6 separate regions of the Homo sapiens genome follow, and regions 2, 3, 4, 5 and 6 are each linked to region 1. The links are contacts of gene promoters, found by promoter capture Hi-C in blood cells and fetal thymus (Javierre and others, 2016). All regions are on one chromosome and are shown on one strand. The core of a region is centred on a gene start or on the middle of the fragment in contact, and the rest is flanking DNA. Distances in the headings are between cores, read along the strand shown. Region 1 holds the start of NUDCD1 (NudC domain containing 1). Region 2 has its middle 270 kb from the start of RSPO2. Region 3 has its middle 190 kb from the start of LINC01608. Region 4 overlaps EIF3E (eukaryotic translation initiation factor 3 subunit E). Region 5 overlaps EIF3E (eukaryotic translation initiation factor 3 subunit E). Region 6 overlaps LOC105375704 (a long non-coding RNA gene).

Region 1 (5,104 bases), core at 1,265-3,764:
AAGGAAGAGAAGGAAGAATGTTTTAGAGAGTGGAAACAGCACTTGCTGCTCCAAGGTTGAGAGCTTGGTAAATGAAGCTGGTTCCACAACATTGTCTCCCTGTTAAAACCCAGGTAACATTATGTCTCCAGTTGTAATTCAGGTATGTACTTTTTCTTCTCCATCAAATTACTCTTTAAGAGCCATATCTTGCTCATCTTTCTACATCACCACTTCCCTCCAAGTCCTGCAATACTTAACAAACCTAAATTATTTTTTCCAGATGTTCGGAATAGAAACTTTTATAATCTCAATTGTAATTCTTTCCAGTGACATGTTTCATTTCTTGTTTAGATTCTTACAAGCTAACTATTAAAGGCGGTGAAATGTAATTTATTAACACAATCTATTACTTACCGTTCTCTTTCTCCAGTTTCTATCAACTTTTGGTTAATCGCTGCTCTCATCTGCGCATCTTTGTTCATCTTGCTAACCTGGACATCAACATGTACTTTCAGATATAGAACATTTACAAAGCATTTTCTGCTAAATCCTCTAGGCAGGCATCCTAACATGTTTACCATTCTATTAACTGAAGGGGTGATACATTTCAAGTGTGTTAATAATATCATTACTCTTTATTAAACACTTATGTGCTTGGCACTGGGCTAATGCAGTGTGGGTTTGCTTTTTTTTAAACATCACATTTAATTCCCAGAACGTATTGTTACATATTTATATTAATAAAATAATCTGTATTTTACTGATGAGGAAACTGAGGCACAGAGATAGAAAGTGGAAAGGCAAAATTTGAACTCAAGTACTTTGACCCTAGGAGCTCCAAAACTGAACATAACTGCCGATCACTTCTGCAGAGACTGCATCCAAAAATTGGGAGAAGTCATACATACTAAACATCAAAAAAAGATTAAATACTATTAGTAAAAAAATAAAATTACCAGGCCGGGCACAGTGGGTCACACCTGTAATCCCAGCACTTTGGGAGGCCCAGGCAGGTGGATCACGAGGTCAGGAGTTCAAGACCAGCCTGACCAAGATGGTGAAACCCCGTCTCTACTAAAAATAGAAAAATAAGCTGGGCTTGGTGGCAGGTGTCTGTAATCCCAGCTACTCAGGAGGCTGAGGCAGGAGAATCGCTTGAACCCAGGAGACAGAGGTTGCAGTGAGCCGACATTGCGCTGCTGCACTCCAGCCTGGGTGACAGGGCAAGACTCTGTCTCAAAAAAAAAAAAAAAAATTAATTAATCAAAAAAAATAAAATTACTAGATAAGGCTCTAAGTGTTTTGCTTTACTCTTCACTAGGATGAACCCACAATTACAACTGCTAAACCTAAGTGTGTGGATGTGTGTGTTTACACACACACTGCTGGTGGGATAAGAAGAAAACAAATCTCAAACTAATTCCTAACTTACAAAGTCCTCAATTGTCAGTAAAAACAGACAACCCAAACCAAAATGATGTTGAAAGAAGAGGAAAGTTAGGTTTTGAAAGCGTTAAAGCCACTTAAAAGTTTAAATTAAATAAAACTTGGCGTAAACTAACGTTTTCCCACCTAATCTGTCACTAACTTGAGATTACTTTTGTTGTCTTCCATCTGGCCTATTGAAAATTCAGACTGGCAATGAGTTACCAGAGTTGATTTTTTTTTTCTTTTTTGAGAGGAACAGGGAAAAGGAGAAGTTGAGTGAGAACTAGGAAATGCTTGCTTTTGTAATTGGAGGCTAACATTTTCAAAATAACTACAAGGTCTAGTCAGTACCACTCCTGGAATATTGAACTTGATCTCGTCTTGGCTCCTAAAATACGGATAGTGACCTTGGACAAGTCACTTAATTCTTAAAGGCCTCAGTTTTCTCACTGGTAAAACAAGGGCGCTAGGGTATCCCTCCCAGTTCAGACATTCTTAGGGAAAATAGAACAGGGCGGAGACAGCGGGAGAGGCGGGAGAGGAGGAGCCAGAAAACAAAGCGAGGACTGGTTTCAGGCCAACTCCGGTAGCACGCCCTGTCGGAGAGCCCTACAGGCCCGCGAGCGCGGGTCGGGGACGCTAACGAAAGACAGTACATCGAAAGGAGCCTGGGCTGGGCCCGGGTCCCGGCCCTGAGGACCACGGGCATAGCTCACCACCATCACCGCGGGCGAGGGCCGTCCCTTCCCAGCGACGAAATGACCCTTGCGCTGAGGACCGTTACCTACCACACTCTTCGGCTGCCCGGACTTAGACCCTCAGTAGCTCGGGCACCTAAGCACACAGAAAGCTAGAACACGCATTTCCGGGGCGGGGTCTCGCCACCCTGCCTATAATGTGAGAATTTAACCAGCGCGGGCCGCCTCCTGGTTGCTAGGGCCTCTGGGTAACAGAGTTCAGACCTTGCCGTCGCGCGCGCGTTAAGTACCAGGAGAACTACATAGCCCAGCATGCAACAGTCTCAACTTTTTCACGGACACTACATTTCCCAGAAGGCAGTTCGCACCGCAGTGTTTTCTGGGATGGGAACCACGCCGCTTCCCAGTCTCTGTGCGAGGCGTGAAGCGCGGACCTTTCAACAAGGGCTTTATTAATTCTCACGCTGCGGCCCTGGAAAGCGATGGAGGTGGCGGCTAATTGCTCCCTACGGGTGAAGAGACCTCTGTTGGATCCCCGCTTCGAGGGTTACAAGCTCTCTCTTGAGCCGCTGCCTTGTTACCAGCTGGAGCTTGACGCAGGTGGGAAGCGGCGGCGCCCTTCGTACTCCGTTCCTTTCCCCTTTCGGCTGCCTCCGGCCTGACCCTTCCCGCAATTTCTTTCTTTCTGACTGGCAAGCGAAGCCACCGTGGCGGCTTGCGTGGACTCACGGAGGCCGCTGCTTCTGGGGAATGATGCCCATCCCAGAACCCGGTGGGAGCCGCCTTCGCGCGCTCTTCGGTAACGGGACCCTGGGCCCCCTCCGTCAGCAGCCCAGCCTCTGAGGTCTGAGGTCTGAGGGCTGGCGTGCGGGTAGTGCCTGGGGCTCTGGCTGCTGTGTGTCCACAGCCTGGCTTCTGTTTCGGGGGACGCTGAGAACATTCCTTCCTCCTGGAGCATCGCTTGTGAACGTGTGCGTTGAGAAACCACACCTCCTTGGAGGACCCCCAGTTCCTGTTTCCTCTGACCGAGAGCCGTTTCTTAGAAGAGAAACTACATTCCAGTCATAGCATTTTTAATTACTCAGTTCCTGGCACATTAAGAACTCTGGTAGAGAACATCTCTAGAAGATAGTGAGGAAAAGTGGATTTACTCCCACACTGCTACTCCTTGCTTTATCTGTAGCTGGTAGAATATCCTTACTCTTGTTTTTACAACTTAACGGCATTTTCGTTATGATAGAGCCCAGAGATCTGCATTTTAAAATTCACACCCCTGCTGATTCTGATGCATGTTTTCAGAGATCACACTTTGAGAAATAGTGATCTACAGTTAATTATAATAACAGACATTAAAGTATAAAATAAGTTTATGCTAATTGATTTATTAAATTCAGAAATATTTACCGAGTACCTGTTTTGTGTTACGTCCTGATAATATCAAAATGAACAAGACACCTTCCGTAACAAAAGAGGACTATTAGCTAGTTAGGAAGAAAATTGTAAACAGATAATTGTAAAACAATATGGGAAGGCAGTGATAGGGATATGTACAAAATACAATGGTAGTACTTGAATATCTTTCCTAAACTAGTCTGGGGATCTGGGAAGGCGTCTTGGAGGAGTTAATATCTAAGTTGAGCTTTGAAGGGTAGGTTAAGAGTTGACTAGGATGAGAGAGGATAAGCTTGATTTTTCTTTTTATTTTTTTCCTTTTCCTCTTTGCCACCGTGTTTCTTCCAGTCACCCCATGTCAGTAGATGGTATCACCATGTTTAGTTAGTGCATTAGAAAGTGAAGCCAAAATTCAGTGTCTCAAAACAAGAAGCAGTTATTATTGCTCACAAGTCTACGGGTCAGCTGAGTGGTTCTTCTAGTCCTAGTTGGGCTCATTGATGCATCCTTGTTCAGTAATGGATCTGCTGGGAAGCTCTGCTCATTTGGCTGGACTTCCTCATATGTTTGGAGGGTGGGGGTAGGGTCTCAGACTATAAGCTTGTTTAAGATTCTTTCACATGGTCTCCTCTTGACTTTTCTCCGTGTGGTCTCTTATCCTTTAGCCGACTAGACTAGCCCAGGTTGGTACCAAGAGACACTTGTGCCAGAGTCATTTGGGGTTTATTTCTTTTAGCCACTGTCTGCTTGGTAGCAAGTCCGGTCAGCTCCACATTTTGATATCTCTAGGCCTCCACCCTAATCCAAATCAGAGTTATCTCTTACCTGAACTCTAGTAGCCTCCTGACTAGCCTTCCTGCCTTCACTTTTGGGCTTCGTCATTGCATTCTCCATAAGACGTACTTATCGGCCTTTTAAATTCTATCTTGATTTGTTGTCTGTTTCCTCCACTAGACTATGAGTTCCTTGAAAACAGTGATGTTTTTCTTTTGTTCACTACCCTATATCTAGTGCTTGGCACATAGGATGTATTCAATAAAATGAGTATATGAAGAAGAGAAGAAATTGTTGAGGTCATTCCATTCATGGGAAAGCATGAGGAAAGGGAAATAATTAGTAGGTTGTATGCTGGACATCCTTGCACTCTTATATTGCTGGAGCAAAACGTCTGGGAAAGTGAGAGGAAATAAATCAGTGAGGGCCTTGTTTGCCTTTTGGATTTCTTGGATTTCCGGTCATTCAGTGTTTCCCTGACATTTTTGTATTGAGCCATTACAATATAAAATAAAACTCAGCTGCTGTAGTTCTGCCAACTTTTCTGTTTACTAGGTGGAGATGTTTCTTAAAAACTATCATTTACTCATCTATCTTTTCATAAACAAAAGGATATTTTAACACCAAAAAAGCAGGAAGCAAAATCTCACAATAAACAATCCATTGAATACTTTAACTTTAGAAAAAATTCACAAAGTTGTCCTTGTTCCGTACTCATTTCATCAGCGTTAATCTTAGATTCTGTGTTTGGGATGTACAGCTGCAGGATATCAGGTGCCATTTGAAGATTTTTTTTTTTTTTTTTTTTTTTGAGTCTGAGTCTTGCTCTA
Region 2 (5,104 bases), core at 1,017-3,516, 1.5 Mb after region 1:
AGGAAAAAGTTTCAAGAAAGACTAGAGTCCACAGTCATGCCCCCTGTTTATTCCAACACTGTAGGTCCTGGCTGTGCCAATGGGAATTGCCCATGGCAGCACAGTGTATGAGGGAGGGAGGAAATCTATGTTTAAATCCTCAAAATGTGTTCTCAGTACCAGTCCTTTGATTTGGATCAAGGACTCAAATGGGAAAAAGAGCCACCTGGTTTACAACAATAAAGAAGCTCCATTACAGACTTTGCAGGAGATGGGAGCAGGGCAGGGGCAGGAGATGAGAGTTTGAAACTAAATGAGCAACTGAAAGGCAGATTAGAACTTTTGTTCCACCATTTCCCAGCTAACTTAATTTGTGGCAAGTCACTGAGCACTGTGGAATCTGTTTCCTTCCTTTCTTTTCTTTTTTTCTTTTCTTTCTTTTTTTTTTTTTTTTGAAACAGGGTCTCGCTCTGTTGCCAAGGCTGGAGTGGGGTGGTGCCATCTCGGCTCACTGCAACCTCCGCCTCCCAGTTCAAGTGATGTTCCTGCATCAGCCTCCCAAGTAGCTGGGATTACAGGCAGCCACCACCAGGCCCGGCTACTTTTTGTATTTTTAGTAGAGATGGGGGTTTCACAATGTTGCCCAGGTTGGTCTCGAAGTCCTGACCTCAAGTGACCCACCCTCCTTGTCCTCCCAAAGTGCTGGGATTACAGGCATAAGCCACCGCCCCCAGCCTGGAATCTGTTTCTTTGACATTTACAGGGAATAACGTGGACTTTGGGGCACATCACAACTTAGTGTGGAGTCTATATATTTGACATTTGTAAGGAATAATGCAACCAGAAATGCTCATTGGGTTGCACTGTCCTGTGAATGTGAAAACCTCATGACAGCAGTACCAACCTGTCCTGCCTATCACTGTGGTCTCTGTGAGCATAGCACAGCCCTCTGTAAATCAATGTTCCCATATTATTTGTTCAAAGAAAGAGTGAGCCAAAGGTACTTATTGCACTTTCTCTTCCTGAACCCCAGACATGTATCTACAACTGCCTAAAGGACATTTCCAACTGAGTGTGTAGAATGTTGCACAAAATCAGTGGGCCAAACTAATCTCTTGCTTTTCACCGCTATAACCTAGTTTTTCTGTGAATGGCGTTGCTAACCATCTTGTTGTTCATGTCAGAAACTCAATGTTCATCCTCGTTTTTTTCTCTTTTTCTCAAACTCCTAGCCATATCTGGAATATGTGCAGCTTTACATACCTCCTCTACCCTTCCCCTGTTTCAGAACTCTGGACTTCCCTGAATCACTGCAACAATCTTTAAGATGGCTTTCCCCACATTCACTCTTGTTCTCCCCCAATTCATTCATGAATGACAGACCCCTGAAATGAAAACATTCAAGTGTACAGTCAAAGCTGAAGAAAGGAGGCATGTGTTATGGCAGGCAGAGTGCTGGAATGGAAGAGAAGAGATCTAAGTTCTGGTTCTGGTTCTATTATTGCCTGGATAAGTCAATTTGGACATTTCTCTGCCTCTATGGCTATTGGCTTATCTATAAAATAAAAACTTTGGATCAGATGATTTCCAAAGATTCTTCAAACATAAAAATTCAATGCTTTTGTTAAAACTGTTTCTAATTCTGGAGCAAAAGACTTTTATGATGCTTTAAAATTGATTTTAATAATAGAGCTGGTTGCAAATGGCTTTAAATATGTATTCCTTAAAGGCTTCTCTCCATGGTGGCTACAAACGGGCTAATCCCCTAATGGGATTATAATTCCAGATACAATCTGGTCATTTGTTCAAATTAATAATTCCAGATACAATCGGGTCATTTGTTCAAATTAAACTTCACTTTTTCTTATCTCAATTTGTAGGTACAAAAGTTGAATGAGATCAACTTTTGTCCCTGTTTTCTTGTAATATAAAGACCTTCAAGGAGTCTTTAATCCACTCAGAAAATAAGTTTCTGTATATTTCTCTCACAAAATAACAATTAATTAGAACTTGACTTAATTGAAAGTAATATGCCCTCAGCTAGCATTATTGATTTAATTAAGAGTTAACAGGATGACATGGTTGCCTTAAATGTGACTGCACCAATAGGGCTCGAGGGATAGAATAAAGAAAATAATGATTTCATATTATTCATTGGTTGGGCAATATCTGGAGTTACTGTGTTCAATCTGAGTACTGTATTTTAGAGGGCACATTGACAAACTACAATGAGTTTGGAGGAGGATACTGTGTTGTTGTAGAATCTACAAACCCTATATGAAACATGGTTGAAGAAGCCAAAGATATTTAAGCTAGAAAAGAAGAAAATTATGGAGGATACCAGAGATCTCAACTTTCTGAGGGACTGTCAGTAGCACAGAGATTTGGCTTCCTCTAGTGCTTCAATGGATATAATATGGGATCTTTGAAACATTGTAGCTCAAACCACACTATTCCTGTGTGTTAACACTCCCGTGACTTTTCATTATTCTTGCAATGAACTCCAATCTTCCTATGACAGACCTTCACCCACTTATGTCTCCATGCCCCTCACTCACTAGGGTCAAGACCTATTAGTTTTTGGTTTTTTGCTTTGTGTTCCTTCAACATACAAAAATTCGAATCCACCTCAAATCTCTTATACTTGCCGTTCCCTAACTAAACAAGGAACTGCATGAACAAATAAAGCATTAGTAGTGGGTACAGATTAAAGACAGCAGATTTTGCTCAATACAAGGAAGAACTGAGCCTCAGAACCCAATACCCAGAGTCCTGGTAGAAAATGAAGATCTGTCCATCTGGAATGATTAAAGAGAAGGCTAATCACTTCCTGCCATGGAAGTTGTAGAAGGTGAATTGGTTGCTTTGCGCTTTATTGGACAGAAACTCATCATAAGTTGCCTTTGGCCCAAAAAGGAATATCCTGGTTTATTTAACTAAAATGTCCCAGCATGGCTAAATCCAGGTAATCAAATAATGTCTCCGGGAACATTATTTGTTCCAACCACAACCTCTGCTTCTCTCTGTTGGCCTCATTCTCAGGCAGGCTGTCTCCAAGAGGAAGCACTGTGGCCTCCAGAAGTTTCAGGACTATATCCTGCCTGATTAGCAATCCCTTAAAAAAAGAGAGTTGCTGTTTCTTAAAAAATTCCAGCAATAGTCCCAGGATTAGCTATATTTGGTTTGGCTTGGGCCACATGTCCACCCTGAGCCAATCACTGCAGCCTGGAGATGAGATAATTTCAACCGCCACTTTTGAGACTGGTGAAAAAACACACCTCTCACAAAAGCCAGAAGTAGAATCAGCTTCACCAGAACGACATGAAATAAAATTGTGGGAGGGATAGTTCTTCAAAATAAAATAAGGGAGTAGCTAACAAAATACCAAAGAAAAGGATGCTGGAAAGACAAGAACATAAGATCTCTGTTAAAAATGATGTTTTAATTAAGGATGTTCAAAATTTATATAACTGCAAAAAGGTTGGATTATCTGACTTCTAACAATATGTTTGATTCTCAGTGTTCTATGATAGAGAGTTGTGGTTTTATTTATTTTTTTTGTCTTTATCTGCTGTGGTCAATGTCTTAGAAAGATCCTGTCCTATCTGATGGCTTGAGATAAAGTCAAAATCGTCTGCTCATGGCAAATGCAGAACAGGAATTAGGGAAGGGGAGAGGTCACTAGAACCTGACTGAGACCAGAATGGGTATGAGTTGTGGAACTTGGCCCAGCTGCAGAGACTGATCTGGAGGTTCCCCTTTGTGAACCAATGAGAAAACACTGTCCTCTTCATCCAGAAATAGTTGGAATCAAACAGCCAAAGTCCTCATGTTACTCCTTGGCAACTTAGAATTTCTTACTCTGAAGCTAAATCTGTCAATAATTTCTTTGAACACTGCTACCTGATTAGGAGTTTACTTCTATAAACTTCTGTAAAATGTATCCAAGTCCCAGCTTGTGAGGACCTTGCTGTTTTCCAGATAGTCTCAGTGTTAAATGGATAACAGCATTTTGATATACTACCCTTCTCAGGTTAATACCTTTATATTTCAAGATATCTCTTTGCCAGAAGATGTTCCAGCTGAATCGCTGGAGTGAAGTGAGAAGCATTCCTCTGTTCCAAGAGGGATTCACTTTGGCCTTGGGGCATTGTAAGAATTGTGATGTGTTTTCTTTTACTGCTAGCATGCAAGGGCCTTGTTTCAGCTTTTATGAAAGATTCAGTTTCAGAGCAATGGTACACATGAGTTGATTTGCTATTTATGTTTGTTTCTGATAAGCAATTGAGAGTTGAGAGAGTAAAGGGACAAGGTGTGCTTTTGCACTCCTCTTGCTGTGGGGAATCACTGTGTGCAGTCTCCTTCCTGACGGAAACATTGCCCCAGTTCGTTTGTTCAGCCTAATTTCAAACCTAGGCTCATTCCTAAAGGCCAAAGTTAGTTTCAATGCCTCACTCTAATGATGAACGTTGATGGGAGCTTAAGGCAGCTACACTTGGGGGTCAAATGAAGTACCCAAGGGACTGCATAGAAAAAAGAGAGGAACCAGACAGGAAAAGAGAGGAGGAGGGAAGACCAGGTGGCTTCCCAGTTTTGGTTTGAGTGTCTGGGCAGATGGAAATGATAAATGCCATTTACCAAGTTGAGAACTATAGGAGGAGTTTCAGGTAAAAATCTCATTATTTCAACATGTTTATTTGTAAGCACTTCTATGAAATTCGTAAGTTTTCAAGTATAATTAAGATTTATATCCAGGAAGTGTGTCTGAATCTCTATTTCTGTGTGAGCTTGAGCCTCTATCTCTGTATGTCTGTGGGTGGGTCTGTGTGTATACAGCTGGTGGGTTCTACAATGAAAGCAGGCTGAGGAAAGCTTGACACCAGAGAGTCAATTGGCAAAGCAACATTAGCCAAATAAGCCCATAATTAATTCCTCAGTGGGCAGCAAATATTCTCATTTGGGCAGTAGGATATTGATGAAATCGGGAAATGAAATAGATATGAAAGTGATACTGTAATGAAGTACTTCCTTATACCATAGTATCTACTATGTCCAGAAAAATGCTCAGTGCCAACATAAGAAAAGTTTTCTAGTTTTTCCAAGAATTGTTGTAGCTTTGGCTGCC
Region 3 (5,104 bases), core at 1,158-3,657, 1.5 Mb before region 1:
TCCTTGTGAGATACCAATAATGGATACATTTATCAGCATGCTGGTGTTCCATGAGTCCTTTGGACCTCTTTATGTTTTTTATTTTCATTGTTGTTGTTCCTCTGACTCGATATTTTTAAATGACCTTTTAAGTTTAATGACTTATTCATCTGTTTGATCAAGTTTGCTAATGAGTCCTTCTGGTATTTTTTAAAAGTTTATATTCTCCAGAATTTCTATTTGGTTCTTTTTTATAGTTTCTATCTCTTTCTTAATATTTTTATTTTGTTCATGCACCATTTTCCTAATTTCATTTAGTTTTCTATCTGTGTTATCATATCACCCTTAGCCCCTTTAGAATAATTACTTGGAATTCCTTGTTTTATATTTCATAGACAGGAGCAGTTTTGGAGATGTTTTTTTTTTTCTTTGATTGGGTCATGCTTCTCTGTTTCTTTGGGTGTCTTTTTATTTTTTGTTATGATTCTTGCCTTTTTAAAAAACAACCTCCTGTCTCAGTCCTCATGAACCAGTTGTATACAGGGAAACACTTCCATAAATCAGCCAAGCTGGAAATTCTGGGGACCTCTCAATTTTTCATGGAGATTCTTCTTCTCTGGGCTTGGAATGTAATTTTTGAATTAGAGAGGTTTGCAGGGTTTTTTCTCTTCTTCCTTTTTTTTTTTTCTTTTTGAGGCTTTGTCGTTTCTTACTTCCCCTGTTGTCTAACTGTGGCATTGTAGATTCTCTGGTGCTACAACAAATCCAGTGAGCTCTCTTTTGTGCTCAGCAACCACAGGCATTCAAAGTATGTGTTTTTTCCCATCAGTGCCATGAAATAGATGAGACAGAAATCAGCTCCTCAGGCATCTAACCCCCAAAGCTAAAACATTTGAAGCATACTCCACTCTTTCCTTTCCCTTCTGAGGAAGCAGCCACAAGTTGGGCTTATCCTCCTCAAATGTGAGCTGTTCTGCTTTGAGGGAGAAACAGTTGAACTGGAACAATTTTCTTGTTCCTTTAAATGAGGCTATTTCTGGCTTTGAGCTTACCTGGTTACTATTAATACAAGAGTTATTAAGAAATTATTTTTAGGCAGCTAGAAAGGGTAAAAGAGTTCTTAGTGGAATTTTCCTTTAATAAAAAGCAGCCCCCAAACCATTTCTGTTCTAACAGAAAGCAGTCTTAAAAGTCAAGCTGCAAGCATAGATATGCAAGCCATCGGCTTTCATATGTAAATGCCAGCAGCTCTACCTAGAAGCCAGGTACATTCAATATGGTAGTTCCTGCTCCTTTTCTCTTGCCACCATGTGTGCGGGTGTCATGGAACCATGGCATCAGCCAGGTAAAACCACGTGTGTAGGTGTCATGGTGACCTTTGGGTAGAAGCCACATTTGCATAATAAAAGATTAGGGTGAGAAGGCCCAGTCTTTTTGTGGGCTATGTAGATGGCACACCTGGTCAAGCCAATCCCCTGAGCCCTAAGTAAATCAATTACTGCCTTCTCAAGCCTCTGTACAAAATCAATTGTGTTCCATCCAAAACCCTGAGATGTCCTCTTGGGCAACTTGCTTTCTCAGCATGAGGAAGATTTCTCTCTTTCTCCTTCTTTGTCAATTAAACTTCCTTCTCCTAAACCCACTCCTCATGTGTGTCTGTGTACTGAATTATTTCTAGGTGTGAGACAACAAACCACAGGTAATTCCACAGACAACAAAGCCATTTCATCTGGGGACTCTTTTGGGATCTGGATCAGAAGGGAGATAGAAACATTGGAGTGGTGAGTATGGAGTGAACCTCAAATCTGTCCTTTAGTCTCAAGACTCTCTTCAAACAAATTTTCTTTCATAGAGAACCTTGACATCATGTGCGGGTGGGAGAAATACTAGAGCAACTGAGGATTTTTGGCCAAAGCACAACATGGCATTATTCAAAGGCCTCCAACAACCCATCTGGTTGTTGGTAATGGATCTCCAGCTATCCTGTCACAAAATTTTCCTTCTTTTCTAACCACAGTTGCTATGTCTTCTATCCTCTCTGTTTATGCAATGTGCAGGAAGTTTTACAGTTCATGTAAACAGTTCTGTTGGGAAAATGCCATAGTACTGGTGAGCACATGATATTTCTCAGCCAATACCACCACCTAATGGAAATAGAAACCCTCTTGATTGGGCACATTGTAGGTCCTTTGCTGTTAATACAGCAGCTTCCCAATTCTCTCTTTTTGTGCCTCTAGAAAAGCCCCTTTTGTGAATAGGAAAGCTCTGCCTTCAACAGTTAGGAGTAAAATGTCCTTTGTAGCCAAATTTTAGTTCCAATACTGTCCCATCTACAGAAGAAATTGCCATTAGGCCTCTACGTTCATTTCAGGCACCTATTCTGTCTCCCAATTAAAATAGTACTTGATTAGGTAAGGGGATTTTAAGTTTAGAATGTAACCGGAACCATTTTCCTTAAGGGTGAATGTTTTAGCACGGGGCCGTAATAGCAGGCAACTAGCACATTCCCTCCGTTAAAGAAGCCTTGCTCAAAAGTGACTATTACAGTCTTTCAGAGATCCATTTTTTCAGAGCCAGGCAGATCACACAAGTTTTGGAAATCAAAATGGATTCACAGGAGGATAACTAAGGCTGTGTGGGTAAAGCGTGGTTAAATCCCATTACTTAGTTCATCCACTTCCATGGCTTGGAGGGCCACACTTGGAACCATGGCCAGGACATTTAACATGGTGCCAGGACTCAGGAACCAAGGAGAGAAAACAGTCAGGCAGATGCTCCCACTGTATTCCACTCCACCCTGGGTCACAGTGAAAGGAGAGAAACTAAAAGGACACTTTTATTCTCATTTATTTTTGTAGATAGGTAACAAACCAACTTCAGCTTGCACCCCACTGGAGTGCACCCTGAAACACTGGTACTCCTTTAACTTCAGGACTTTGAAGAGAAAAGCAACTCATTTTCTTTTGCACAAAGGCATGGCATTTCTACTAAACATTTGCAAGCATTGTAAGGTCAACCCAGCCTTTTTAACAGGCATATCAGGCAGGCCTACAGAGAATAATCCCCCAGAATTAAAAAAGCAACTTCCAAGGGATTCATCTGAGATTCCCCCTTATTTGGGGCCACCTCAAGCTCCCTTCTCATTACAGTCCCTTAGGCAAATAAAGACTTAGACCAATTTTCTGACAACTCCAATAGGTACATAGCTTTTCAGAATTTAACTCAGATGTTTTACCTCAGATAGAAGGATGTTATGCTGCTCCTAATCCAAACCTTAACCACAAATAAAAAGCAGTCAGCTCTGCAGGCAGTAGAGAATTTCAGAGATAAGCAACGTGTCTCCTATAATACACTAAAAGGGAAGAAAGGAGATAGGGAAAGTGAAGAAATAGCAGAAACTCCATTCCCAATAGGGAGTGAAGCAGTTCCTCTTGACAACCTTGATTGGAACCTCAATGGCTCTGCAGATAAATGGAAAAGAAAGGACTTTTTAAAATGCATATTAAAGGGCGTACGAAGAACTAAGGCCAAATCTCTCAATTATTCTAAACTGTGTATGATACACCAAAATTCTGATGAGAATCCTGCAGCCTTTATGGAAAGACTGAAAGAGGCATGAATAGTGCCCACCTCCTTATCCCCCGATTCAGTCAAGGGACAGCTCATTCTAAAGGACAAATTTATGGCACAGGCAGCTCCCAATATTACAAAGAAACTACAGAAGCAAGTTATAGGACCAGAGAGCACCTTAGAGAACCTCCTGAAGGTGGCCACTTTGGTCTTTTATAATAGGGACCAGGAGGAGGCCTAAGAGAAAAAGAGGAAGCTCAGGAGAAGAACAAAGGCTCTAGCAGCTGCTTTGCAGGATTACAAAGTCCAGGACCCCTGAGGTACATCGGCTAGTTGCTATCAGTGTGGCAGGCAAGGGCATTTTAAGGAGTGCCCAAACAGCAAGAGGAAGCCACCTTGACCCTGTCCAGCCTGTGGTGGAGACCACTGGAGATCAAACTGACCCCGGAGGTAGAGGTCACCAGGTTCGGAACCAGTTTCACAGATATTCCAGCAGGACGGATGGATCCCAGGGCTCAAACCCCCGGCTTCAGTAGCTCAAACTGCCATTACAGCACAAGAGCCCTGGGTGATTCTGTAAATTGAAGGAAGTAAAGTAGACCTCCTTCTAAGCTCTACAGCTAGTCTCTGTCTCTCTCTCTTCACTTCTCTAATCCAGGCCTCCCCTCTTCCCATAGCACCATAAGGCGCATCTCAGGAAAAACTCTAATCCAACATTTTTCTCAACCTCTTAGTTACAGTTAGGAGAACCTACTGTTTACACATGCCTCCAGGCCATTGTCACCATGGCTCTACTAGTCAGAAAAGCCTCTAAATTAGCCCTAGGAAATAACTATTTATACCCAACATAATGTGGCAAAATTACTGTACTCTAGGGGGAGCCCTTAGCTCACAAACAGCCAGTAAAGCAAGCGATGCGTAAGGCAGGATATGCACTAGTCACTCTAAATAACATCTCTCTCCAGGCACAAGTGCTCAATTAGCTGGACTAATAGCTCTTACAGAGCAGTTAAATTAAGCACGGGAAAGGTAGTTAACATTCACACTGACTCCAAGTATTCTTTCTTAGTTCTCCATGCTCATGCTGCCATTTAAAAGGAAAGACATTTTCTTACCACTAATGAATCTTCTATAAAATATCACCAGGAAATAAATAGGTTACTGTCCTCAGTTTTCCTTCCACAAGAAATATCAGTGATACATTATATGGAACATCAAAAGTGAACAAATAAAGCAGCCAAAGGAAATAGGTTAGCTAATGAGGCACACAAGTGAGCAGCAAGGAAGCTTCAAGGCATCAGCACACTTGAAGCCCTTCTAATCTAGGAAGGCTCCATAAGACAAATTAAACCTCAGTATTCCCCTGCAGACATGAAATAGGCCACTTCTCAAGGGTATTCTTTCCAGCCCTCAGGATAGCTGCAGTCAGAGGATGGCAAACTCCATTTGCTAGCCTCCAGCCAATGGAAAGTCCTTAAAATCCTTTGCCAAGCTTTTCACTTAAGAAAGGATAAAACTTATCAATGTGCTCAGAGATTGTTTTCAGGAAGAAAAC
Region 4 (5,104 bases), core at 1,509-4,008, 1.1 Mb after region 1:
CCTTTAATTAGTTTAAAGCTATCTGATGTTCTGTCTTTTGAGGGGGAAGGGAAAGGATATATCTCAGCTTCTTTTTCTCCCACCAAAGGACACATTTCAAATGCTGAAAATAGTATTATAAAACCCATAATTGTTTATTAAATAACTCTATTTGTAATTTGGAACATTCTCTGTTAATAGATTTCCTGACTAAATGCCTGTAAGCACATGTGATAGTCAGCTTTATAAAAATGCATATTAAGAATGTTTTATATGTTTTTATACAACCTTATTGATATGTAGGATAAGTTACAAATCTGTTTACCATAAAGTTTGCAACATCTGTCAAAAAAGATTACTGTGTTGGGGTTTAATTTAGTATAGCTGAATCATTTTATCAGCTATGGTATGTGTCTGAAATTTAAAAGCTGTTCTAAAATAATTCTTGGACGAGTTTTCAATTGTAGATGAAAACAAATTATGGAAGTAATATTTTGGATGTGTATGATAAACATGTTGGAGCATACATTAGTATAATTTCCCAATGGGGGTTACTTAAGTTTTGAAGTTATTCTACTTTGCTTATTTTATTAAGTTATATTTTAGTTCTTAATATTTTTCTTAAAGTTCTTATTACCACATAACAATTTACATTTAGAATGTAAATGTATGGAGACAAACAGTTTCAAAGGCCATTATCATTGCATTTCTGCATTATCAATAAGGTTCAGTTATTTATAAGATTATAAAGAGATAATTTTCAGTTTTCACATAAGGATTTAGCATTTCTCAATTTTCTCCTCTTTTCTTTGTCCTGTTTCCTCCCAATCATACAGTTAAACATAGTTTACACTTAACACTGATTCTTTAATTAGTTGTCTTAAACTAATTAGAAAAGACTTGGAGTACTTTTCTTTGGATATGCTGAATAGTTGGCCAGTAGTCTTCAGTGAAAACTAGACCAGAGGTTTCTATATCCAAATGGTTAAATCAGCAGTATTTTGAAATAAATTGTGCCTATCAGATAAAATTTGGAAAGCCAGGTTATTCAAAGAGGTAATTAATAAGACAGGTGAAATATCAGATCCCCAGGCCTTATTTTTCCAAGTGTTTGTTAAGATGAGAGGTTGGGGGAAGATGGTGGCTATGGGAGGGTTTAGAAAAGTAAGACCATTTGAAAGATTAGGCACTCAAAACCTGATAGAAAATCTAGAGTTGATACAACCCTTATCAGTTCCCTAAATTAAGACTTATATATCTTCTGTCCTTAAGTGGGATCTCTGGTATTTTTTACTTCCTGGAAACAAAAAAATATTTCCCTAAATCAAGACTTAAATTTATCTTGTGTCCTTAAGTGGGATCTCTGTTATTTTTTACTTCCTGGAAACAAAGTATTTCATTTTGTGCTAGAAGCATGAACATGTTTAATTAAATTGAACTGAGGATGAAAGATTTGTTTTTGCTTTGTCTTTTGAAATAGCACTTAAGAATTCTGTGCATATCTTATTTAACATATTCGATGTTGTGTTTTGTGTGTGTGTCAGTTGAGCAGCAGAGCTAGTTAGGTTAAAGATATTTATAAAGGATTTACAGAACATATTTAAGTATCTACCTTAAGCTGCCTACAGACAAGGTTGAGATTTTTAGTGTAATCTAAATAATCTAGAAATTTGGGTGTTTAAAATCTGGATTGGACTAGATATTTTTCTCAGAAATTCTGCATTTTGATGGATTTTGTCTTTTAGTTTATTAATAAATTGAATTATTTTCAGTAACATGAGGCAAGCATGTTCTGGGATAGGTTACGCCAACTTTTTGTCTTTTTAAAATTGGTTTTATTTCTCCCTAGCCACTAGACCACCAGGGACAGCCTTTTAAGCTTTGATAGGATATTACACTTTTATTTTAATATCTGTAGACTTTGATGATTTCTATTAGTCCTTTTTTTTCCTTTGCGTTTTGTAGAGACAGGGTCTTGCTGTGTTGCCCAGGCTGGTCTGAAATTCCTGGGCTCAAGCAGTCCTCCTGCCTCGGCCTCCCAAAGTGCTGAGATTACAGGCCTATTAATCATTTGGTTTCTTTTACTGAGTGTATTTTCATGTTACTGAAACCAGATTATTTCTACATTCTTTAATTCAGTCAGAGTGATAATCAGCAGCTTAGATAAACTGAGATGCCATCAATTATTTACTAGTATTCCTTGGGCCTTATTTCAGGTTTTTCTTTGACCTGATTCACTTCGAAAAGTAAAGATCAACAAATAAAAGATCAACAAGCACAGTGCAAACAAAGATCCACAAAGTAAGATATGGCTCAGAGCGTGCAGGCATTTATGGATCTTGATGCTTGTTGCAAAATTACACCAGCTATGTTGGAATGAGTCTTAGAATATGGATGTAAAGAAAGAGAGAGGGATAGAGAATTCTAGTTAGAGTTATTACATAAGATGGAATTTTTTTTTATAAAGACACAGGATCTTGTTCTGTCACCCAAGCTGGAGTACAGTGGCGCAATCATAGCTTACTGCAGTCTGAAACTGCTGGGCTCAAATGATACTCACACCTTAGCCTCTCGAGTATCTGGGACTATAGGTGCAGGCCACTGTACGTGCGTGCGTGTGTATGTGTGTGTGTGTCTGTGCGACCATGCCAGTGTGTGTGTGTGTGTGTGTGTGTGCACATGTGCACAGAATCTTGCTGTGTTGCTCAGACTGGTCTCAGACTTCTGGCCTCAGCCTCCCAAAGTGTTGGAATTATAGGTATGAGCCACCACATCCAGCCTAGAATGGAATTTTCACTCTATGGTCTTAAAAATCTAAGATTAAATATCATTTCCTTAGGTAAGCTGTTCCCAAATCTCCAGATTAGAACTGGTAGACCTTTTTGCATTTCACATACATAGGTCCTTCCACTTTTTCTTTTTTCTTTCTTTTTCTTTTTTTTTGACATGGGGGTCTCACTTTGTTGCCCATGCTGGAATGCAGTGATGCCATCTCAGCTCACTGTAACCTCTGCCTCCCAAGATCAAGCGATGTTTAAGTCAAGACCCCCTTGACTTAAACTCTGTAAAGGCTGGCAACAGAGGATGTTTTGCCAGTAGCATCTAACACGGTTGGTATTTTGTTGAGTAAATGTCAACAAAGTAAAAGGATTGGTTTGGTTTGGCTGGCATGTTATATTTATGAAGGAGAATGATGGGAACTTGGAAAGTTAAAAGTGTTGAAAGGAATTTGGAAATAAACTGGGTATAGTAGTCTCCCCTTACCCAAGGGGATATGTTCCAAAACCCCCAGAGGATGCTTGAAACTGCAGGTAGTACCAAACCCAATACAGACTAGGTTTTTCCCTGTGCACACATAACTATGATAAAGTTTAATTTATAAGTTGAGCACAGTAGAAGATTAACAACAACAATAATAAATAGAACAATTATAACAATATGCCAGCATCACTACTCTTGTACTTTGGGGCCATTACTAAGTAAAAAATGGTTCCTTGAACATAAGCTCTGTGATATCAAGACACTTGATAGCTGGAATAGCTACTATGTAACTGATGGGCGGGTAGCGTATACAGTGTCGATATGCTGGACAAAGGGATGATTCAAGTCCTAGGTGAGACAGTAGGACAATACAAGATGTCATCATGCTAGCCAGAACAGTTTACAATTTAAAGCTTATCAATTGTTTATTTCTGGAGTTTTCTATTTAATATTTTCAGACTGGGATTGACTGCTGATAACAGAAACCACAGAAAGTGGAACTACGGATAAGTGGGAACTACTGTAGTTGGGTTGTAGAACTAACCTGGCAGATGTGTAAGATAGATTGTAGAGACTCAAGAGGTAAAGTAGTTAGAAAACTAAGAAATAGTAATGGAGCCTGGACTAGGGTAGTGACTAGAATAAGAATCAATCAGACAGTAAATATTTATCGTCTCCTGTGTATGAGGAGTCATGCTGCTAATTGCTGGACATAACGGCAGTGAATGAGGAAGATACGGTGCGTGCACTTTGGTTACATGTATACGGTCTACCTTGGAAGCAGATATTCAGTAAAACAACTATAGCAAAAATAGGTGCTATGAAAGCACCTAACTGATGTATCACAGATGGGAGAGGTGTCTTAGAAGGCTTATGAGGGTCTTATTTTAGCTGAGACCTGATAGCTTCCATGAAGATAAAAGACAGTATATAAACACACATACATACATGCATGTATACTACATACTCTTAAATATTTTACATGCATATGTAGGTACTCTTCCATCAGCGGAACTGACTTAACCTATTTACTAAGACTGGTGTGTTTTTAATTCTGATAAATTAAGCTCTGCAATGGCCCTCTTCAACCTGATCATAAAATTGGAAAAATACAAAATGCAGATTGGTTGATATCAAAGAGTATTTTAGATCAAGATCTTCATGGTCTGGTCTGCTCCCTCTGTCTCTTTTATCTGAAATTCAGTCTCTCTCTCTCTCTCTCTCTGTCTCTCTCTCTCTCTCTCTCTCTCTCTCTCTCTCTATATATATATATATACATACATACTATATATAGTATATAGCTCCAGGGAGTGCCCCCACAGTTTATAGCACAAATATACACAATGCCCGTCAGTTTTATTTATGTTTTCCTGAGATTATACTTATTACTGATGCTCTTTATAGTAGGCTTACTTTTTTAAAAATTTTATTTCAGTAGCTTTTGGAGTACACGTGGTGTTTCGTTACATGGATGAATAATATAGTGGTGAATTCTGGGATTTTAGCTCATAGCTTAGCTCCCACTTATAAAGGAGAACATAAGGTTTTTGGTTTTCCACTCCTGCATTACTTCACCTAGAATAATGGCCTCCAGTTTCATCCAAATTGCTGCAGAAGACATTATTTTCTTCCTTTTCATGGCTGAGTAGTATTCCATGGTTTATATATACCAGATTTACTTTATCCACTCATTAGTTGATGGGCACGTAGGTTGGTTCCTAAGTGAATTGTGAATTGTGCTGCTGTAAATATATCTGTACAAGTGTCTTTTTCATATGTCTTCTTTATCCAAAGAAACCTTTATACAAAGGTTTACTTTGTATAACCATTATATAGTTGTCCCTTGATATCCTTGGGGGACTGG
Region 5 (5,104 bases), core at 1,505-4,004, 1.1 Mb after region 1:
CTTAAGGTAACTGCTGGAAATCCAGATATTGAAACTCTTCTAGCATATCCACCCTTGAAAGCAGGTTAGTATGAAGAGCCAACTGTAATGACATGGAGTTTAGCCAGAGTAGTACACATGAACCTTTTGAGGATTAAAAAACTTGCTACACTGCTACAAAAAGCTTTTATTCTAACACATATAACACATTCTAGTGTTAATAGTATTATATTTATGTAGTATGGTTTTATATTAGTCTGAAAATTTCTACAAGTGACAGGTTTGTACTTGTAGGTTTGGTGAATTTTTATGTTTATTTTTTTAAAATATGACGATACAAGTTAATTCCCGGTCTTAAAAAAATTTGAGGGTTAGTTTTAAACTTTTGCATTGCCCCTAACAAATCTTGTGCTGGAACTCAAATGATATTTTGATTAAGTGATTGAATACTGTGATACAAACACTAAGTTAATATGTTTTACATCAAGAACAGTCAACATAGAGTTACTGGAAATTCTAAAAAGTTACATTCAATTCGTTTTAAAATTTTTGTCCTGTCTGAGCCACAAAACATTTGTGTTAGGCGAGAGTTTGTTGCTTCCTGTTGGCATATTGGCAGGCTAACAGTGCCAAGCTTAAAAGAATAGATATCTTTTTCTTTTGATTTAGATAGCCACTACCACAAGATCTGTGTATTTGTTTGAAGTTTTGTTAATAGCAAATCTAAAAATCTTGTTTGGATTTGGGATGAGAAATGTCAGTGTTTTACTTTTTAGTTAATTAATTTTATTTTTTGCAGTGGCCTTTTTTTATTTCTAAATACTTTTCTGGTGGTTGATTATTCTTTTAAATCTGTGGTTAGGGAAACATAAGCTATGAAAGAGCTATTGTAACTATGATCTGAGATTAGAATTTGACTCTCCAAATGACCTATTGTAGGTCAGTGTTGTATAAATTAAAGCTGTGTGACCCTAGAATCTGCCCTTAAAAAAAAAAAGAAAAGACTCGTGGATTTTAGAATACATTGAGAATTGTTCAGGTACACTCTGTTTGGTGTGAAACTTCTTTGATTTATACTCCAAGAAATGTGTTAATTGAAATAAAATGACGAAGCTGGTTTGGTGGGAATTTTTGAACACTTTTGCTTTAACAGTTATTAGCACTATTGATTATTTTGTTAAAATTTTCCCTCATTGTGGCCTTTGATCTGGCTCCATAATATACCCCATTCCCTTATTCAGCAGCTCTTTGAAATAAAAGTGATTTTAGTTCCTAGGACTATTTGTTATACTTTTGGAGCTGTCTCTTTCCCTCCCTCAGGATGTAAAATGTATTTCCTGTTTGTATATACCACTTCATTTAAAAATATTTTTCCTTGAGGCTCAAGACAGTATGAGTAATGATAATTTTTAGAGGCATTAGGATCTTGATTGAAATTCTGGCTCTGTTGTATCCTGTTGTGATGTCACTGTAAGAATTGTGCATTTAATATTGATCTTCAAGCATAGTTTTGCATATTTTAACATCTGAAATCAGAAAGTGTCTTTACTGGGTTTTTGGTTTTAGAAACATAAAATAATAATGTATGTTAAAATTGATGGCATTTTTGACTCGATGATATATTTTTATATTCAGATATCCTTTATAAGAATTAAACATTTTATCCTTTGTAATTAGAACAATTATTTTATGGATTTTGATAAACCAGTTTTTAAATTTTCAATGAATTTTGAAACATTTGTGTACTTGTGTGGCTACATTAAGTCAAGATAAAGAACATTTCTGTCACCTCAGAAAGACCCTTTTTGTTCTTTTGTGGCCATACTCCACCCATGGTCCTGGGCATCCATTGACCTGCTTTCTGTCCCTGTAGATTAGTTTTGCCTGTTCTAGAATTTTATGTATGTAAGTGGAATGATGTACTATGTATGTTTGTGTTTGGCTTATTTTTACCAGCAAGTTTTTGAGGTTCATGTTATTGTGTGTATCAGAAGTTAGTTTCTATTTATTGCTCAGTAGTATTTCATTCTGTGAATTTACCATGGTCTGTTTAATATATTCATCTATTGATGATGAACATTTAGATTACTTTTCGTTTTTGCCTATTAAAAATAAAGTTAGTATGAATATGCATGTACAAGTTGTATTGTGGATATACTTTGTGATAATAACTAGAACCAGGAGTGGTTCAAAATTTAATTTACACATCTACTCCCTGTGTTATTTGCCTGCTCTTAGTGTGCCAAATGTTATTTAGTACATTTGAAAGGAAGAATCTCAGTATAGACTGAGTTTGTATTGTGGTCCCCAATGTTTAGATCATATATCTGTAAATATGTATACACATTTACATATAGATAAATATAAATTTACGTATGTAAATGTATATGTAAATATATGTAAATCTGTATACCTATCTCTGCGATGATTTTCATCATCATTTCAGTAACTCAGATTTACCAAGTTCTTATTCTGTATCAGGTGATAATTGTAATCCCTGTATGTCTTATGTCACTTAAACTATACAACTGAGGTGGGTTCTATCCCCATGTTGCAGTGAGGAAGCTAAAGTACAAACTAGCTGTTAAGTGGTAGAGACAGAATTCTTGATTGGATTTCTGATCCTGCACATATAATTTAACTTGTAATTATGATATCTCTTGATATTTATACTATTATGTAAAAGTGCTTCTGTAAAAAATTAAATTTGAAATTTCATCTTGAGGTGTAGACATGTATTCTTCCCCCTCTACTGCCCTTACTTGCTTCTATTGCTTTAGCACATCTGATCGGTTCAGAGTCAGTTTACCTACTTCTGCTGCTTTGTTTTGAGGGAGTCCAGCTTTGCTCATTGTTATTAGCCTGGTCATTATGGATGTTTTGAGTTTGTGACTCTTTTACCAGCGGATAGAAGAGGTAGGGATGGCCCTTAGTCCCCTCTTTTTTTAGGTTAAGACTGTGGTGTAAAATTTATAGGTTTCATGATTAGAAGTGTAATTTGGGGCAAGTTACACTCTATATGTATTAGTTCCCATTTTGAAATGGGGATAAAAAAATATAGGGTTTTTGTTAGGATTACAGGAGAACACTAACTTGTATTGCTCAGTACATAATCCTTTGATAACTATTAATTGTTAATCAGTGGGCCTGCTTTTTTCCTGTCTCCCTCTCTCCGTACTGACTTCCATTTGTGTCATAATTTGGAAATATTTTTTGGTTCTGTACATAATTTCTCATTACATTGTAAATGAGACTCACGTGTCTTGATTTTCCACATCTTCATCCTAGTGATTTTAGTGACAAATTACATGTAAATCTAACTTGGTTTCTGAAGTTTTAGGTGCCTGAAATTTGATTAGTTATGTATAAATTATCTGAAGTGGGTTATAGTAAGATGATGCTGCTGTTTCCTAGTTATAAAAGTTATTTTTTATTTTCTTATCTAGACTGATTATTGAAGACCTGAGTATTTTTAGCAAAGGTTTTTTGAAACAAACCAGTGTGATCCAATAAGGACTTAGATAATTACAGTTTTTTGTAGAAAGCTATAGGTCTTTTAGTAGGCTAGAGGGATACATGGGTATAAAACATACATTATGTTCATTTTTCAAGAGTATTCACAATATAATTAATTATGATTTCTTAAACAGGTTCCAGCAACAGATAGAAATGCTTTAAGTTCACTCTGGGGAAAGCTGGCCTCTGAAATCTTAATGCAGAATTGGGATGCAGCCATGGAAGACCTTACACGGTTAAAAGAGACCATAGATAATAATGTGAGTTCGACTTTTTCACAGTTATTCTCTGAAATATCTGTGTATCCTTCACACTTTCTGATGAGGAAAATCACTATGCATTTTGGGAATTAAAAAAAAAAATTCATATTAGCTTTTGTTGACCTTACAAAAATCATAGTGGATTAGTGGCTTGACTAGTTTGAATCTCCTTGAATGAAATTGTCAGACTTCTTTTGGCTCTTAGAGAAAAAACGTAGCCTTCATTTCTGTTTTACAGCTACTGTGCCCTTTTTTTCTATGCCAGTCAAAATGACACTATGCTGTTAGTGCCACCTATTATTGAAAGTCCTATGCAGAAGACAGTTTTCATCTACAATTATCTAATTAAACCACTTACTATGAAATGTTCAGTTTAATTCTTGCTTTTAAAATGTTTTCTGAAATGATTATAATTTATAACTTCTGTAAGAGTTTATAAATTAGAGCGTCTTCAGTAGACATTATTGAATCTGTCTCTAAGAACAGGGTAATAATTTGGAATGTCGAGGGATCATGTAGAGAGAAGGCATAGGGGGTCGGACATTGATCATAATGACCTCCGTGCATGCCTTAGAAGGGGCTCATTTTTAATTACAGTTTTGAAGTTAGTGATGTTTGTCCTCCTGCCTCTTTCTTATATATTAATATTTTTTATGTATATATTTTTAAATCCTTTAGTCTGTGAGTTCTCCACTTCAGTCTCTTCAGCAGAGAACATGGCTCATTCACTGGTCTCTGTTTGTTTTCTTCAATCACCCCAAAGGTCGCGATAATATTATTGACCTCTTCCTTTATCAGCCACAGTAAGTTATTTCACTGTGTAATTTTGGCTTTGTTTAGATAAAATTACATGGAGTTGTTTAAACTTAAAATATACTTTTTTCTATCATTTGAATTTGTTGTCACCTGTTTTTTTTTTTCTTCATGTAGTAGATTTGCTTGTTACTGAAAAGTATGCATGTGACTCTTAAGTAAACTATTTGACAGAGTGTACCCTAAGCCTTTTAAAGTGCTATTTAAAGTGTGGTCCCTGGGCCAGCAGCATAGAAATCATATAGAATCTCAGGACTCACCCTAGAACTAAATTAGAATCTGCATTTTAATAAGATCCCAGGTAACTCATGTAAACATCAAAGCTTTAGAAATGAGGCTCTAGGGCATACTACTTGAAAGGAATACGTGCATCTTTTTATATCATCTTTGCTCTGTCAACTAGCTTTTGTTTAATATTTTGGTGATGAGAAATTCACTGCTTATGAACTAGACCATTCTTTTGTAAGCTAGAAATTATTTGTAAAATTTACTCTTCCAGTGGAACTCAAATACCTCTGAAACTTCTGCCCATTATT
Region 6 (5,104 bases), core at 797-3,296, 1.1 Mb after region 1:
CTCCCAAGTAGCTGGGACTATGGGTGCACACCACCATACCTGGATAATTAAATTTATTTATTTTTTGTAGAGATGGGGGTCTCACTGTGTTGGCCAGGCTGGTCTTGAATTCCAGGCCTCAAGTCTTCTTCTTGCCTCCGCTTCCCAAAGTGCTAGGATTATAGATGTGAGCAACTGTGCCCAGCCAAGTTAATTAATTCTTATTGAATCTAGTAGTCTATTCTCACTCCTTAACTTATTGTACCTTTCTTGGAGCAGCATTTGATAATAATTGATCAAACTCTATTTCTTGAAATGCTTTTTTCTTTTGGCTTCAGCAACATTACACACTTTTTTTTCCCTCCTCATAACTGACCACTTCCTTTTTGGTCTCCTTTTCTACCTTTTTCTTCTCTTCTTGGCTGCTAATTGTTTAAATGACCTAAAGATTGATCTTCACTGAAATTTAAGGTTTCTTTATTATTGTAGCATAGATCTTTGAGTTCTGTGGATCTAGAGATTCTGCTTTCCAAAGGAGAACATTTCCACTAGGGGCGCATCAAGAGTCCAGTTGAACCATGAGCCAAAATAAACCACTTTTCTTTATAAATCACCTAGTCTCAGGTATTCTTTTCTAGCAACACAAAAACATACTAACACACATGGCATTTTATGAGGTCAACAATCAATCTATATATATAAATGTTTGTTTGTTTTTTAAGAGACAGGGTCTCCCTCTGTTGCCCAGGCTGGAGTGCAGTGGTACAATTATAGCTCACTGCAGCCTCCAACTCCTGGGCTCAAGGGTTTATCCTGCTTCAGCCTCCCAAGTAGCTGGGATTACAGGTGTGAGCCACTGCATCTGAATTCATATTTGTGTTAAAAATGAATGAATGACACAGAAACAGGCTTCTGTATGTCACAGGAAAATATGTATGTGGCATGGATTTGAAAATAGGGATTTTGGAGTTAGACTGTTCTGGAATAGAGACTTATCTCTATTTTTAACAAGAGCTTTGTGAAATGATGTTGGGCAAATTTATTAACCACTCCAAGCTTCATTTTCCTTATAAAATTTATACGGAAAGTTATAAAATGGAAAAGATAATAACACCAATTTCATAAGATTGCTATAATAATTAAAATAATACTCATAATGGACATGTTATCATTAAATATTGGTCTCATTTGCTGCAACCTACCAGGCAGCAGACAGAATGCTGAAGACTTTTACTTGTAATTCTCATTCAGTCCTCCAAATAAATCTGACAAGTTGATGGCAATTCCATGAAGATTAAACAACAACAACAACAAAGTTAGACTCACAGAATTTATTTAATTCATGTGATGATACAGTGTGTTAGTCCGGATAGTTTATGCCAAGCTGCAGGAACGAACCAACCCTAAAATTTCAGTGGATTAACTAATAAAGGATTGTTCCCAACACACACAAAGTATGCTGTAGGTCCCGTGGTTCTTCTGAGTACCTTCGATCCAACTTTTCTTCAGGGATCCAAGGCTGCTGGGTCTTGAATCTAGAACATCTTGAACACATGGTTCTAGTTCACTGCAACAGGCAATGAGTGACCTGGAGAATTGTGTTTGGCTTTTAAGTATATTAGTCAACTGACATAACAGCATTTGTAAAACCATAGCACTGGCCAGAACTAGTCATATGGCTCTGCCTAATTTTAAGGAAGCTGCAAAATGTGGGAGAACCTAAACCTGTTTAGTGAATAGTAAATATTTCTGCCACATCTGGCTGGTAGACTGGATTCAAAATGGCAGTATATATGCTTCATATCCTCCAAAGCTATGTTTGCCAAATAAAATATATGATGCCCAGTTAAATTTTAATTTCAAATGAACGATGAATAGCTTGAGTATGAGTATATCCCATGCAATGTTTGGAGCATATTCAGAGTAAAAAATTAAGTGTTATCAGAAATTCAAACTTTTATTTGCTAAATCTAACAACTTTACCCAAGGGCCATATGTTTCAGACATGACTAAAACCTGTTGCTAATATGAAGTGAAGAATTATTCCCCCTACCTAAAGGTATTTACAATCATATTTTAAAATTTCCAGCTAATAGGAGCACATCTGCAGATTAAACTTTGCTAGCCACTTGCCAATTCAGCTCACTATATTATAGGGGTTTTTTAAAAGCCCTAAAATTAAAAAAAAAAAAAAAAGACTTGGATCTCCGTAACCTCCATCACCAACTGAGAATATGGCTAGCCTTCTGTAACTTACTTAGGTTGCCTAAGTTGCCTCTTTCTTTATTTGTAAAATTTGACTTGAAAAACACCAAGGGTAGCTTGTCCCTCATTAAATCTATTTTCTTATGATTCTATTGTGTTACGTCATAGTATTGTGTCAGGATATTAGTAAAAACATACCACAAATAACACTTCTGAGTATTCTGTCTCTCAAAGTAACCTCCCCAGGTGAGGTTATTCTGATGATAATATTGTAGCTTAAATTGTTTTTAGAAAATATAGCAGCATATTCTTTTGAGTATCCTCCTCTGGTGGCAAATTATTTTTCCACAAAGGTAGACTTGATTTTTGGAACCAAATAGAAGTTATTCAAAGTCAAGTCAATGAATGGTCAAACTGAAAAATAAATGTACATTATGGAATAAAAACTAGGTGAGTTTATCAGATAAATGAAATTGATTTATTTTTGAGACTCTTTAATGCTCCATTTAAAAGCAGTTAGTTTTAAGGCAAGTTTAAAAATGAGTTTTGAGCAATGATCACATTGCTGGAATAAGTGCATTGCTTCCACTTTTGAAGGAACTCACACTCAATGGGTAATGAGCTCTGTAAGTTGATTACAAAAAGTAACCCTCTATCAAGAAACCAGTGATTGATTGCTATTCATGATAAAGTATTGAAAATACAATTCCACATGATTTATTACCTAAATGCTCTTGAAAATGACTTTTATCCTGGAACAAAGCTCCTTTTTGGTGAACTTTTCAACTATGTTTAATAAAAGAAATACTCCATACTGGTGGTTTTCTACCTCCCAACAAAATACATACATACGTACGTATGTATAAAGCTTTTCTGATCTTATTCATGAAATCATTTTTTAAAAGTTCACAAATCCATACATCAAAGATTATGTGACAAATGAAGAAAGTGGAATAAAAAGTTTTTTTTTTTTCATGGAAATGTTCATTGGTCAAAATTGAAGATTAACTTTTTACACCAAAATGCAAAGATTTGAAAAATGAAACATATTTCTAGAGAGAAACAAGACAGACATAAGCAAATAGATCAAAACACAAGTTTGGCCATTTTTCTGGACATAGACCAATAAAGTATGTTTTATTGAAACAGCTACTGATAGTACTTAAGATTATCAAGGGCACCTCTGAGTGGTCCCTACCATTGTTTTTCTCATTTCTCCCTAACTCCAACTTTCTCTTTGCTTTCCTTTTTTTATTTTATGGGGTGCACCTATGTTACTGCACGGTGTCTATGCATGCACACACAACACACACATATGTATTGTGTGGTGTCTATGCATGCACACACAACACACATATACGTTATTGCATGGTGTCTATGCATGAAGACACAATACACACATGTGTTTAAGAACATTAAAAATTCAAAGTCATTTTGGAGCACAATTCTGAAATACTTATCTTAAAATGTTTAAATTTTACATACCATGAACTAACCATTCTAATTTTAGGAATTTATCTTCATAAAACTGTAGTGGACTGAATTGTGTTCCCCTAAAAGACATGTCCATGTTCCAACCCCAGGAATTTGTGAATGTTACTTTATAAGGAACAAGGGTCTTTGAAGAAGATATAATTAAGGATCTTGGGATGATGAGATCATCCTTGATTATCTGCGTGGGTCCTAAACCCAATGACAACTGTCCTTATAAGACAGAGGCAGTGGGAGAACACACAGACAAATGAGCAGGAAGCAATGAACAGGGAGGAAATGCATCCACAAGTCAAGGAATGCCAACAGCCATCAGAAGCTTGAAAATCCAAGGAACATTATCTTTACTTGAGTCCCTGGATTAGTGTGGCCCTCCTAGATTTCAGATTTATAGCCTCCAGAGCTGTGAGAAAATAAATTTCTATTGTTTCTACCCACCAAATTTGTGGTACTTTGTTACAACAGCCTCAGGAAGCTAATACAGAAATTATCCATAAAATTAATAAATATGATCAGTATAATTTTATTTATAATAGCAAAAGTAAAAGTGTCTACAATAGAGAAAGCATTAAAAAGTATACTATAGATATGACAGAATATAAATCCTGTAGCAAAATAATATAAAATAATATATTCAACATATATAAAATGAAAAAATAGTTTGCTAAACAGCCTGCAAAGTGTAATTCCATTTGTTTAAAAAGATATATTGGAAGGGTTAATATCCAGGATACATAAAGAACTTCTACAACTCAACAACAACAACAAAATAGCCTGATTAAAAAATGGGCAAAGGACTTGGACAGACATTTCTCCAAAGATGATATACAGTGCTCACTTTGGCAGCACATATACCAAAGATGATATAAAAATGACCAACAAGCATATGAAAAGATGTTCAATATCACTAATCATCAGAGAAACACCAATTAAAACCACAATAAGACATCACCTCACACCCATTTGGATGTCTACCATCCAAAAAAAAAAAAATACCCAGAAAATAATAAATATTGACAAGGATGTGAAGAAATCGGAACCTCTGTGCACTGTCTGTAATAATGTAAGATGATATGGTCACCATGGAAACAATACGGCAGTTCCTCAAAAAATTAAAAATAAAATTATAGTATAATGCAGTGATTTCATTTTTTGATGTATTTCCAAAAGAATTCAAAGCTGGATCTGAAAGAGATAGGTGCACACCCATGTTAATTGCAGCATTATTCACAATAGCCAAGAGATGGAAGAAACCCATTGTTCATTGATAGATGAATGGATAAGCAAATTGTGGTATACACGCAATGGAATATTATTCAGCCTTAAAAAAAGGAAAGAGGTTCTGACACATACTACAACATGGATGAACCTTGGGGACATTCTGCTAAATGAAATAAGCTAGTAACAACATCACAAATACTGTATGATT

What was found. Contacts are between HindIII fragments. The CHiCAGO score rates a contact against its expected background, and 5 or more counts as called.
Region 2: a contact is called between a fragment that was not itself captured here and the fragment with the promoter of NUDCD1 in region 1, in 1 of 17 cell types (M2 macrophages). The highest score is 5.4, in M2 macrophages.
Region 3: a contact is called between a fragment that was not itself captured here and the fragment with the promoter of NUDCD1 in region 1, in 1 of 17 cell types (M2 macrophages). The highest score is 7.0, in M2 macrophages.
Region 4: a fragment that was not itself captured here is called in contact with the fragment with the promoter of NUDCD1 in region 1 in 5 of 17 cell types (total CD4 T cells, naive CD4 T cells, total CD8 T cells and 2 more); the score reaches 10.1 in total CD4 T cells.
Region 5: a fragment that was not itself captured here is called in contact with the fragment with the promoter of NUDCD1 in region 1 in 8 of 17 cell types (total CD4 T cells, naive CD8 T cells, fetal thymus and 5 more); the score reaches 14.4 in total CD4 T cells.
Region 6: a fragment that was not itself captured here is called in contact with the fragment with the promoter of NUDCD1 in region 1 in 2 of 17 cell types (total CD8 T cells and naive CD4 T cells); the score reaches 7.0 in total CD8 T cells.

What each region holds. Positions count from the first base shown.
Region 1 is chr8:109,331,497-109,336,600 of GRCh38, reverse strand. NUDCD1 (NudC domain containing 1) reads left to right here and starts at 2,514. Exons shown (of 10, transcript NM_032869.4): 1 at 2,514-2,708. The coding sequence starts at 2,591. ENY2 (ENY2 transcription and export complex 2 subunit) reads right to left here and starts at 2,254. Exons shown (of 5, transcript NM_020189.6): 1 at 2,127-2,254; 2 at 397-473. The coding sequence starts at 2,132. RefSeq lists enhancers at 1,973-2,222, 1,488-2,410, 2,593-2,642, 2,773-2,822. The HindIII fragment of the contact is 6,990 bases long and covers 1-3,794 here.
Region 2 is chr8:107,807,088-107,812,191 of GRCh38, reverse strand. No RefSeq gene overlaps it. Among named protein-coding and RNA genes, the nearest start is that of RSPO2, 270 kb to the left of the region's middle. The HindIII fragment of the contact is 5,175 bases long and covers 1-4,853 here.
Region 3 is chr8:110,831,907-110,837,010 of GRCh38, reverse strand. No RefSeq gene overlaps it. Among named protein-coding and RNA genes, the nearest start is that of LINC01608, 190 kb to the left of the region's middle. RefSeq lists an enhancer at 4,264-4,765. The HindIII fragment of the contact is 4,863 bases long and covers 1-4,838 here.
Region 4 is chr8:108,204,144-108,209,247 of GRCh38, reverse strand. All of the region lies in intron 10 of EIF3E (eukaryotic translation initiation factor 3 subunit E), which reads left to right. Among named protein-coding and RNA genes, the nearest start is that of EIF3E, 42 kb to the left of the region's middle. The HindIII fragment of the contact is 1,795 bases long and covers 1,861-3,655 here.
Region 5 is chr8:108,227,721-108,232,824 of GRCh38, reverse strand. EIF3E (eukaryotic translation initiation factor 3 subunit E) reads left to right here. Exons shown (of 13, transcript NM_001568.3): 6 at 3,630-3,755; 7 at 4,434-4,558. Among named protein-coding and RNA genes, the nearest start is that of EIF3E, 18 kb to the left of the region's middle. The HindIII fragment of the contact is 4,278 bases long and covers 616-4,893 here.
Region 6 is chr8:108,269,950-108,275,053 of GRCh38, reverse strand. All of the region lies in intron 2 of LOC105375704 (a long non-coding RNA gene), which reads left to right. Among named protein-coding and RNA genes, the nearest start is that of EIF3E, 24 kb to the right of the region's middle. The HindIII fragment of the contact is 2,017 bases long and covers 1,038-3,054 here.